Regions from separate parts of the Homo sapiens genome. Here all the other regions are linked to region 1. Evidence: promoter capture Hi-C in human tissues and cell types (Jung and others, 2019). All regions are on one chromosome and are shown on one strand. The core of a region is centred on a gene start or on the middle of the fragment in contact, and the rest is flanking DNA. Distances in the headings are between cores, read along the strand shown. Region 1 holds the start of LRFN2 (leucine rich repeat and fibronectin type III domain containing 2). Region 2 holds the start of LOC105379699 (a long non-coding RNA gene). Region 3 has its middle 47 kb from the start of LRFN2.

Region 1 (3,771 bases), core at 493-2,992:
AATCGGCCCCCACACAAGAATAACAGCCCACATAGAACCTCTAGCCCTGGCCCCTGGGAACTTCACAGCCCAGGGAATGGCAGTTTCCTCCCTAGCTTTGCTCCTCCCCAGCAGCAGGGGGTCAAATTCCTGAAGCTTCCCCCTCCCCCAGTACTAGAAGGCCAATCAGGCCATGGAGGCCACAGCTGCCACCTCCCTGAAACATACACATGCGTACACACACACACGCGTACACACACACACACACACACACACTCCATTGTGGCCAGGGGAGGGGGTCATCATCTATAGCCATGCCTGTAACTCCAACTCAAGAGTGCAGGCTCTGACATGTTCCCTGTCCCTGCAGGTGTCTGTCCGTCTGCAGCTGTCTGCTGTCGCCGGGTGCATTTGGCAACAGTCTGGCTCAGTCCCTCTGCGGTCTCCACTCAGGCTCTCTTCTCCCTCCTGCTCTGGTTTTCAGAGGCTCTATCTCCCTAGAACTCTCTGTCTCTGTCCTTTGTACCGGGCTGATGGGAAGACGAGTAGGACACCTCCCTCAGAAGGTCTGTGCAAAGTAAGGCACTGTCCACCTCGGAACGGTCTACTGCTCTCCCTCCTCCCTGCCCAGGCCAACCTTAGAACCAGGGCAGGGCTGGGTGGGAGACAGAGACCTAGGAACCCAGGCATGGCTAATGCCACTTTCCATATTGCTTCATCATGCCATTCTGATGCCCCAAGCTGCACACACACACAATCCCCCTGATCTGCTTTCTGCCTGAGGCCAGCATAGGGTCCCTGAACCTGCCCTACCTGCCCCCACAAACTGCAACCATGCCTTCCTTCCTCCCATCCGCTCTGCATCAACCCTTCCGCACTTGGCTTTACCCCACCCCACCCAGTCCACAGAGCTCAGGGAGTCCCCGGCGCCCCCACCTAGCCCCCAGCAATGGCTCTAGCCAGGCCTTGCATGTGCGGAGATGCAACAGAGTGGTCTGGCGGCAAAGTTCTCCTGCTGTTTTCAACGGTTCCATCCACCCGTGGCTCCCCGTCTCTCCATCCGGCTCTCCAGTCTCACATGGACCCGGCTCTCCCCGCTCCCCGCCAGAGTTTCACCCCCACTGTAGGAAATAAAGACTAAAGAAAGGAAAGGAAATCTCTCGCGATAAGGATGGGCGAAAAGAGAAGGGGGTGTCCGCATGAGCACCTAGGATGCGGGGAGTCTTCAAGAGAAAAAGAAAGGGATGCAAAGTTCCCGGTTCCCTCGGGTGCGTTCAGCCCCGCGCCGAGCTCCCGCGGACACCCGGGATCGCAAAGACGCAGCGCCGGCGACCACTCACCTGGGCGAGGCAGCATCTACCCCCGGCTGGGTGGCACCGAGGCCGGCTCCGCGGGGCGCCCGGGCTCCCCGGCTCGGCCACGCATCCTTCCCCGCCCGAGACAGACTCGAGCTAAACCCTCCGGCGGCTCCGGCGAATGCAGGCAGATGGTGGCCTCGGACGTCCACGCGGGGAAAGCCCTGAGCCGCTTATTCAGTTATATCCATGGCATTTAGCAAGAAGAAGGGGGGAAAAGCACAACTTGTTCTCTTCTCTTCCAGATTAAAGAAAAATAATAATAATAATCCCTCCCTAGGAGGATGCCGGTAGGATTTTCCGGATCGAAGAACCCCAGGCATTCCCAGGAACCTCGGGCATCTTGGAATGTGGGGTGTCTTCAAGTTCAGACGAGCCTGCCGGGTTGTGTATGTGTGAGTGTATGTGTGTCTCAGCGAGAGGGAGCCAGGCACTCACACCCACACGCACACACAAACACACTCCCCCGTACTCCCCGCATGCACACTGCCCCCCACGCGCGCGCGCATACGCGCGTACCCGGTTTCTCTCTCCGCTCCACACACACACACACACACACACGCACACACACACACACACGGATCACACGCTCCAATCTGGGAGGGAGTCGGGCGGGCTGCGGAGACAGCGCAGGGCCAGCAGTGGAGAAAACCCAGCGGCCAGAGGCGCCCAGGAACCCGGCGGCCGTGCGCACCGTCCCCGCCGAGCTCTCCGGCGCGGCAGCCCCCAGTGGCGAACCGCGGAGCTGCAGGAGCCGAAGGCAGCCTCTGCGCCCGCTGCCCTGCCCGCTGCCGAGCGCACCCGCTTCCGAGACGACCAACACCGCCGCGGAAACCAGAGGGATTCACGGTCCTGGCAGGGGTGGCGCGGGGACGCACGGTGGGGCGGGAGTGGGCTGGGGCCGCAGTCGCGGAGGGAGGTGGGCAGGCCGCGAGCCCCGGAACCGGGAGGGCGGTCTCCGCGGTCCAGCGGCACGGGCAGCCCCTGCGGAAGGCGAGCCGGGCGGCCAGGGCTGCACCTCTGCAGCTGGCGACGGCGCTGCCACCTCACGTGCCTAGCGCGCCCTGCAGCCGTCAGCCCGCCGCCTGCTGGAGGAAAACCCGACCGCGCCGGCCCTAGGCTGGGAGTGGGGGCTGGGGCGATCGCGCCCACCCAGTCCTGGGGCCCAGTTCAGATTCTCGAATCCTGGTAAGGGACCTATGAATAACGAGCGCCCCGTGCACGCACACACACGCACTTTGACTTTTCATGATTATTACAAGAATCAGTGAAGGGTGCAGTGGCGCCAAGTGTTTGCACAGCATCTTTACAACTCTTCACTTGTTTGATCTTCTCAGCAACCCTCATTTGATGTATAAGGAAACTGAGGCCCAAAAGAGTAAAGTGACTTGTCCAAGGCATGTGGTAGGTAGCGGAGACCCTACTCAAAGCAGACTGTGAGCTCACAGTCAGAACACCCAGGTCTGGCCAAGGTCTCGTCTTTGGTTATCCTCTCGGTTCACTATAAACAACTAGTTACCAGAAAGGTAGGACCGTCCTCTGCCTTACTGGACTCCCCAAGAGGCATTTCCTTCCTTCTAAAGGAAATGAAATTTTGAGATTCCTGTTGGTACTCCAGCTGGTAAATCCAGGGGCAGGAAGAATGTCAATGTTGCAGTCCTTCTCTTCTCTCCTGGTGGCTAACACATCCCGTGCACCTGTCCCGGTTACCCACAGGGAGGCACATGTTGCATGTGGATGTGTCTCTGCAGCCCAGGATTGGCTCGGCTGGATACATCTGTAACATACGACCCTGTGTCCTCTCTACACACATGCATAACTGCAGAAGCCGAGGCAGCTGGTCCTCATGTGTGCACCCTCCACATGTGCACCCCGGGAAACTGCCAAACTGGCATGCTGCATATCCTTGAAGACAAGCCTCTCCCTGCAGGAATTCTGGAAAGCCTGGTGGGGGAGGGGCATGGCCAAGATGAAACTCAAGGTATATGGGGTGGGCCTTGGAGAGAAGGGATCTAACTCAGGAGCAGGGAGTGAGGGATAGAGGTAGGGAAGAGTCATGAGAAGGAAAGTAATGAGGAAGGAAGAGGTGAGTAAAAGGAGGTGTGGAGTAGAAACTGGGGAGGGCAAGTAGGGAAGAGGAAGGGGAAGGGAAGAAGGAGGGGAGAACAGCAGGGAAACTGCCTTACTCTTTGCTTACCTGAGGGCTTGCCTACTATTGGCGGGAGCTCCCAGGAAGAAAGGCTTAGGAAGAACCACAGCCTGGGCTCAAGCCTTTGAATTCTCCCAAGGGTTGGGGGCAGTGGGCTAGGTTATCTCCCCTAACCCTCAGTCACCCATGAGACAACCAGAACGGAGTGGCAGGGATAGGACCAAGCTGGCACCAGAGTAGAAATGGAGCTGCTTTTAGAAACCAGAAAAGCATTAGAATGATGTGAAT
Region 2 (3,771 bases), core at 342-2,841, 63 kb before region 1:
CAGGGGCTCAAGGGGCCATTTGAAGCCCAGAGGAACAACAGACTATGTGTCACTGGACCAAATGAGATAACACCTGTGAAGGTCCTTGCCACACAGCAGGTGCTCAATAAATGCTCAATGCATGGTGAATTTGAACCCCTCCTTGTCCTCCTTCTGGAGGACTCTGGCCTCCAGTTTTGCTCTTGCAGACAGGCCCCTTGATGCATCGCCCACCTAACTCAGCAAGAGTGGGTTTCACGCAAAATGGGGCACACCCCACCCACGCCCCACCATGCCCTAACCATGGGCCTCAGCCCCATTGATCAAAGTGGTGAAGGATAATTTAATCATAAAGCCAACTCTCTTTTGTTTGGTTGGTTTTTAGTGCTTTAGGACCCTAAAGCATCTTTAGGTGATTTTTTTTTTTTTTTTTTTTTTTTTTTTTTACCGATAGCCCTATGAAGAAGGCATAACAAGACTTTACCACAGAGGCTACGAATAATACCTTTGATCCACTGAGCACCTACTCTGTGCCAGCCCCTGGGCAGGAACTGGCATGCATGGGCATGTATGATTGCACCAGAAATAAGTTCTATCATTGGCCCTGTTTACTCATGAACACATGAAGCTTGCTATGAAAGTTTAAGACACCCAAGGCCACAAGGCAGTCCCGTGGCCATGCCAAACCAGCCTGCAGCAGAGCAGGAATGCCAACCCCAGGTCTGTGCTTGAGCTCCTGTACCTCTGTCTCTGTGGCAGCACGAACAGGTGAGTTGACTGGCCCAAGGACAGAGAGATGATTAGACACAACCTGAGGCTCAAAGCTGGGTCTTCCCAGGGCCAGTACTCTTCCAATTGCCATCCAACTGTGTCTGCATAGAAGGGCAGGGGGAGGGGCTGGGAAGGGCAGGGGGAGGGGCTGGGGAGGCCAGCCCAAGCTGCATGGCACTTCCCAGCAGTTGCAGGAAAATTAAATGTGGTTTTCCTCATCATCGTGAACAACAGGGGTACAGGAAAACTGGGGGATAATGTCCCCATTAGCCTGTTTTCTTAGCACACAGAGGGAGAGATTTTAAAAATAAAATAAAACTACATCCCAATTTGATGCCCTAACCTACCAAAACAAAACACATGCAGATTTTAAAATGTAGAAAAATCCCATCAGAGTCAATTCAGTTATCCCCCTGCCTCTAACAGGTGTCCCATAACCAGGACAGATCACCTGGATGCCTGCCTGCCCTGATAACTGATGTTGAAGGTCAGCCACCTCCCCCTACCCTGACTTACTGCTTCCCCACCCCCGACCCGCCACACCTCTAACACACACTGACACATACTGACACACACACACTCTCTCACTCACACACACACCCCTGCAGCCCTCATCTCTTGTCTCTCTTGGGCTGTGAAGTAAATAAAGCTTGGCCTCTGGGGTCCCATTTTTGTACCTTTTCCATCTTTCTTGGAGGCCTGGCTCACGCAGGCAGGGGGCCGAGGCGCTCCTTCTCACTCACTCTGTTGGCAACCCAACCAGCCTTTAAACTGTGTCTTTTCATGTATAACAAAAGACCTTTCTTTTTGTCTTTAAAGGAACTTGGGGGGCCAAAGGGATGGTGGTCAATATGCCCAGGAGAGAGGGGCCCTCCAGGTGCCCTGAAATCAGGCCATGACAGAAGCTTATAGAAAACTGGATCCTAATAGTAACAACTCATTCTTATCCTGAACCTCCACCCCCTGACCTCCAACCCTTGCCTCAGGAAACTGAGTCAGGGGTCAGTGATTCTAGAAGCTCCATACCCTGCTCCTTTATTTCCTGTTAGAAAGAACCACTAGGGCATCGTGGCAAAGGTAATGAGCTTGGAGTAAGGAGAACTCGGTTCTAGTCTTGGCACTGAAGCTACATTGCTGTGTGACTTTAGGAGAGTCACTTCCCCTCTCTGAACTTCAGCTCATCATCTATAAAATACAAAGTGGGCATAGATGGATTTGAAGATTTTCCAGTCCTGGCCACCTCATTTCTGATTCTGTGACAAGGCAGTGTCCCCACCTGGCCCTGGCTCTGCTGTCCCCCTCTGGGGCCATGCTGGTGATTCCAGGAGGGGAGCAGGACACAGGAGCATTCCATAGGCCACTCCCTTGCTCGCCCCTGGCTGGAGCAGTCTCAGAAATCACCCCAGAAAGCAAGGGCGGCCCTGCTGCAGGCTGGCTCTACTAGGCAAATTACAGCCTCTCAAGGGTGCATATGACAAATGACAACTAAATGGTTTGCTTTCCCTATGCAAATGAAGCTGCCAATTTACATTCATTTGCACCTGATGGGTGCCTGAAATGGATGGATTTGATTTGTGCCTGATCTGTAAGTGTCTAATTTATTAATCAATGAAACGTCATGTACAGACTTGAGGATCCCCAGTTCCAGCCGGCCTCCCATATATATGTAAATAATGCAATCTCTCAATCTACTTGTTATGTAAATGTTAATATAAAACTGACAGAAATATGCATCTGCAGAACTTTATGAGCAAAGAGAACTGAGATTTACACATGCTCCGAGCCCACCCTTTGCCCCTCAGTTCCTGTGGTGCCTCCTTCCTCTTGCCATACTTTCTTCTTACTTTCCCCTTAGGTCAGTTGACCCATCTCACCTCCTCCAGGAAGCCTCGCTGCTCCAGCCCTCCCACACTGCCAGGCCTCCAACCACCAGCCCTGGCTCTTACAACCTGGACAATCTTGCTTTTTTCTGGCCCTGGAACTTTGCCCGCAAGACCACGTAAGACACAGTCTTCCCCCAAGTTCTCCCCTTTCCATTTCTGTGCTGAAATGAACCCCCCTCAGAGGGCCAGCTACACGTCACCATCTTTAGCAAATACACACTGAACACGAAGGCACGAGATCGGTGCTGGGAAGAGGGAGAGAGAAAAGGTTCCTGTTCTCAAGATTTTCCTGGTTTAATAGCAGTAGTGTTTTCTCGGCTATGTGCAGGGCACAGTTCTGAGCACTGCTTATGGGCTGACTGCGTAATTTGCACAATAATCTCTGCAACAAGAGTGCTACTGCTGTCCCCATTCCACAGAAGACAAAAACAAGGCTTCTTTTATCAGCTAGCAGAACCGGGGTTGAATCCAGCCAGCGTGCTCCGCAGCTAGTCACAACACTACAGTTTGGCCTTTACCCAGTGAGCAAAAAGGTCATTTCAAGCAATGGTGTGTGTATGCGTCACCATTCCAAGTGCCAAATTCAGTCTCTTCTATAGTTTTCCTTGAAGAGGCCACAGAACAAACCTTAGCAAAGACAGAAAATGACAACTTTTGCCTCCTCCCAGTTCTGATCTGCCCTGTACTGGTTTCCTAGCTTATGCTCCCAGGAAGGCGTGACCTTACCTGGATCTTGTGAATGAGTACCTGTCTTTAGCACACCAGTTCTCCACACCTGCATGACGTTCTCTCCCCTGCCCTGGAGCTCTGGGGGTTCCACCATGGCAGCATTCTCCATATCTGACTCCCACTCTCTGTCCACTGTGAGGGCTAGGCCAGCTCTTCCCCAAGAGCTCAGCAATGTGCCCAGCACTCTGCAGACCTGTGTGGCCAGTGGGTGGCTTCCTTTTGGATGTGGCCATCCGGTCCCTCCCCACTCAAACTCCTCCTGCATCTCTTGTCCCTGCACACCCACCACCTCATTAACCCAAGCCTCAGGAACCACCCTTAGCCCACATTTTAAGATGAAAAGTTTGAGATCTGGGGAAGTGAAGCCAAGCTCACAGCATCACATACCTGGGAGACGGTGCAGCCAGAT
Region 3 (3,771 bases), core at 407-2,906, 47 kb after region 1:
ATAATGAGCTTGTAGAGAATAAAGAAGAACCTGGGTCATTAATGATGATTGTTAAAGCTTTGCAGCAATCAGCCCTGCAATCACTCAATCTTCTTATGTCAGATAGTAAATTCAAATGCCTCTTCAATGACACACATATGATATAAATCAATCAGTCAACAGCCTAGGGCCAATGGTGGACACAAGTGAAGAAGTTGGTAAAAAGTAGCCAACCTTAGTTTGTCAATATCAGGTTCACAAGTCAATGCCCTACAATGGAGAAACCTAACACGGATATTATTTGCTTTTGTCTTAGTCAATCTTAATTTTCCAGATATAGTGACAGAAATGCATAAAAGCACAGCCTGCCTGGACAGGAAGAGAGTTTAGTCTTCATCTCATGCAGTGGTTCTCAAAGCATGGTCCAGGGGCCTCTGGGGCCAGTGAAGTCAAAATTATTTTTATAATAATACCGAGGTGTCATTTGCCTTTTTCACTCTGATTCTTTCACAAGCATTCAGTAGCATATTCCAGAGGCTGCATGACATGTGATATCACAACAGATTGAATGCAAAAACAGGCATGCAAATCCAGCTGTCTTCTGATAAACCAGACATGAAAGAGAGTTCCAACAATGGAAAACAAGACCACTGTTTTTACAAACTTTTTTTGTAAAATAGTTATTTTTTCATAAAAATATCATTTGTATTACTATGCAAAGGGTTTATGATTTTAAAATAATAATATTTTATATAAATATTTTAAAATTTCTCTGAAGATGAAAGTATGTGTAACTCATATAAATGAAAGCTCTTTAGACTCCTTGATAATATTTAACAGTGTAAAGGGACGCTGAGACAAAAATGCTTTCAAACTGCTGATCTAGTGACACGATGGTTGACCCAGGGCAAGGAGATAGGCACTCATTTAGCTGGGACTGTAGACAGAGGCATGGAATTGGATTAGCTGATCACAGTAACAGCAAATATGTACAGGTGCCTGTAACAGGATAGGTGTTATGCAGAACATTTACACCTGTGACCTTGCATCATTTTCACAACAACTGTTTATCTTACAACTTTCCTATGAGATAAGCAGATAGACACTGCAATACCCATTTTGCAGATGAGAAAACCATGGATTAAGTAAGACAATCCTCTGCCCAAAGTCTTACAGCCAGTAAATGCTCAAGTCAGGATTCAAATCTGACACCAAAACTAGTGTTTCTGAATCTGGTGTCTTAGCCTCTGAACTTTCATGGAGTCAAAACTTGAGCCCCAACACTTACCAGTGTTTGAACTTCAGTCCATACTCTGAGCTCCCTGGGCCTCAGTGTCCTCATCTGAATAATGAACATGGAAATATCTAGGTTGTGAGGATCAGTGGAAATCACAGATGCGAGAACCATATGTAAATAGTAAAGTTGATGTGATTATTATGACCCCTGCCTTCCAGCTGTGGTCTCTTTTGTGAGGACAATTTTGGGGATGGTTGTGAACATTAAAAGTATGGACTCACTTTCATGTTTGAACATGTGTGTGTATGCCCACACGCACACACAAGGTGATATGTGGCATACACATTTTTATATTAATACTCAGAGATATACTTCAGCCTGTAAATCTCTTCTCTCTCTCTCTCACACACACACACACATGCACGCACGCACACACACACACACAGTCTCAGCAGCTTTTGTGGAGGCAGAGACTGGCTTAGCAGGGTTAATAAATGCACCAGCATCCCCACAGCTAGAAGGAGTATCCAGCACCAGGTACTTGGCAGTGGGCCACGCCCCACCCCCATCTCTGGACCACAAACAGTCAACAGCACTGGAGATGTGACAGGCCTTTTCTGAGTTTTTTCTCTTTCAGCACAAACCTAAATAAGCACCATTTCCAGGCACTATTTTGTGAGGTGAGTAATAGAGTCTGAAACAATTATTAGATATTTACTGTAGCAAAAGCACTGAACTGAGATGTGCTTTAAAAACACTAAACAGTAAACCAGGGAGGAAGATAGAGTGTCTGGGATCAACTCTGGAAGAGGCAGGCAGTGTCTCAGGCTGTGGCCCTGCTGCTGGCTATGGCTTGGAGGTTCCAGTGCCCTCTTCCCTCTTAGCCTTTGCAGTGGGGGGAAGAATCTGGTTTATGCCAGCTCCCTGCCCCGATTCTTAACCAATGTGTGTCCTTGGGCAAGCCACCTACCCTCTCTGGGCCTCAGTTTTCTCTACTATGCCCTGAGGGTTGACCAGATGACCCATATAATTCTGTGACCCCTGCAAAGTATGTCTCTGTGGTTTCACTGTACTGGGGCTAGTGTTCCCTGGAGCAAAGGGTCAGAAGTGAGTGATGGGAGAAAGGATGAGCCAGAACTTTAGACCAGGGTTTCGCATGCCTCTTACGCATCTCCCAGCTCCCCAGGAAGTCTTATGAAGTATATGCATAGGGTGTTGGGGTTGCTAAGGATCAGCTCTGGCAGGGACAAAAGCCAAGAAATGGAGGCAGGGACAGAGGGAGAGACCCATGGAGGAAACAGATGAAGGCACTTTTCTGGTCCCTTATCTCTCCACGATCACTTGCCCCTAGCTCCCTTGTGCCTGCACAACTTTGCCCCTGAAGTCCCTGCACTCACCATGCCCATCTCCCCATGACTATCCCTCCCCCTCCACTCTCTGAAATCATCTCCTCCCTCTCTCTCCTTTCTAGCTGTTGACTCTGGCTCTCAGAAACCCAGAACTATATTCCAGGCTCACCCGCAGTGGCCTTCTGGTCCTAGAAACTTGGACACGCCTATTTATCTTCTCTTGCCAACTCTTCTGTGAGGTGGAAAGAGCTTTTGCTTTGCAGTCAAAAGGTATGGCCTCTAGGTCCACCTCTGTCACTTACCACTGGTGGGCCCTCAGGCAAGTTCTTCTCTTTTTGAACCTCAGTTTCCTTATTTGTAATTTAGGGCTAAAATGAATACTTCTTCACAGGATGTTTTGGTGACTACACATGAAGGCACTTTGTAAGCTGATATGGTGCTTAAATGCTATAATTTGACTGCATTGTGCTTGATTTAACTTAATTTTGTTATCCCCTTTAGAGCCCTTGTGAAAATAGCGAGGTCTGCACACACAGGCATATTTTGGAGAGAAAGCCTATCTACCTTCCATGGGGCCCTTTACTTTTACACACATGCACATACTATACACACACACACACACACACACACACACAGAGAGTTGAGGCTCCAAAAATAGACTTAAGAGAAGGCAGGTGAGGGGGGAAGGGTGGTGCACATCCCTACAGGGAGGGAGGAAGGACAGGGAGAAAGAGAGAATGTTTCCCTTGCCCTTGCCCCTGCCCGTGGGTTTTCTCACCTGAATGTCCACAAGTGGGTTGAAAGATACTCATTGTTGGCTGAATTGTATGAAAAGACTCCTAAGAAGTGCACCCTCCAAACTTGCCTCCTCTCAGTACCTCCTTAGTCATATGCATTATCTGAGTGTGGAAATTCTGCCTTCTAGAACTGGGGAGGGAGACAGCAGGTATCCTCCAGCTTGGAAGTGGCAAGAGCTTGGATGTGAGGCCTACCGCAGCCTCATCACTAACACTGCGGAAGCCAGCACCGGCCAACTGATACAGTTTGGATGTCTTCCCCCTCCAAATCTCATGTTGAAATGCAATCTCCAATGTTGGGATCCCCAATGCAATCCTGTCAGTATTGGAGGTGAGGACTGATGGGAGGTGATGGGAGGTGACTGGATTATGGGGTGGATCGCTCATGATGAGTGAGTTCTTGCTCAGT

What was found. Contacts are between HindIII fragments. The study calls those that stand out against the background at their distance.
Region 2: a fragment that was not itself captured here is called in contact with the fragment with the promoter of LRFN2 in region 1 in 1 of the 25 tissues and cell types used here (H1 embryonic stem cells).
Region 3: a contact is called between a fragment that was not itself captured here and the fragment with the promoter of LRFN2 in region 1, in 1 of the 25 tissues and cell types used here (IMR-90 fibroblasts).

What each region holds. Positions count from the first base shown.
Region 1 is chr6:40,585,622-40,589,392 of GRCh38, forward strand. LRFN2 (leucine rich repeat and fibronectin type III domain containing 2) reads right to left here and starts at 1,743. Exons shown (of 3, transcript NM_020737.3): 1 at 1,320-1,743. RefSeq lists silencers at 1,916-2,015, 2,106-2,175. The HindIII fragment of the contact is 16,487 bases long and covers 1-3,771 here.
Region 2 is chr6:40,523,111-40,526,881 of GRCh38, forward strand. The region is part of intron 1 of LRFN2 (leucine rich repeat and fibronectin type III domain containing 2); the gene reads right to left. It overlaps LOC105379699 (a long non-coding RNA gene), which reads right to left and starts at 855. Exons shown (of 3, transcript NR_182434.1): 1 at 722-855. It overlaps LOC105375051 (a long non-coding RNA gene), which reads left to right and starts at 884. Exons shown (of 3, transcript XR_007059918.1): 1 at 884-1,237; 2 at 2,606-2,749. The HindIII fragment of the contact is 3,524 bases long and covers 1-3,353 here.
Region 3 is chr6:40,632,898-40,636,668 of GRCh38, forward strand. No RefSeq gene overlaps it. Among named protein-coding and RNA genes, the nearest start is that of LRFN2, 47 kb to the left of the region's middle. The HindIII fragment of the contact is 6,259 bases long and covers 1-3,771 here.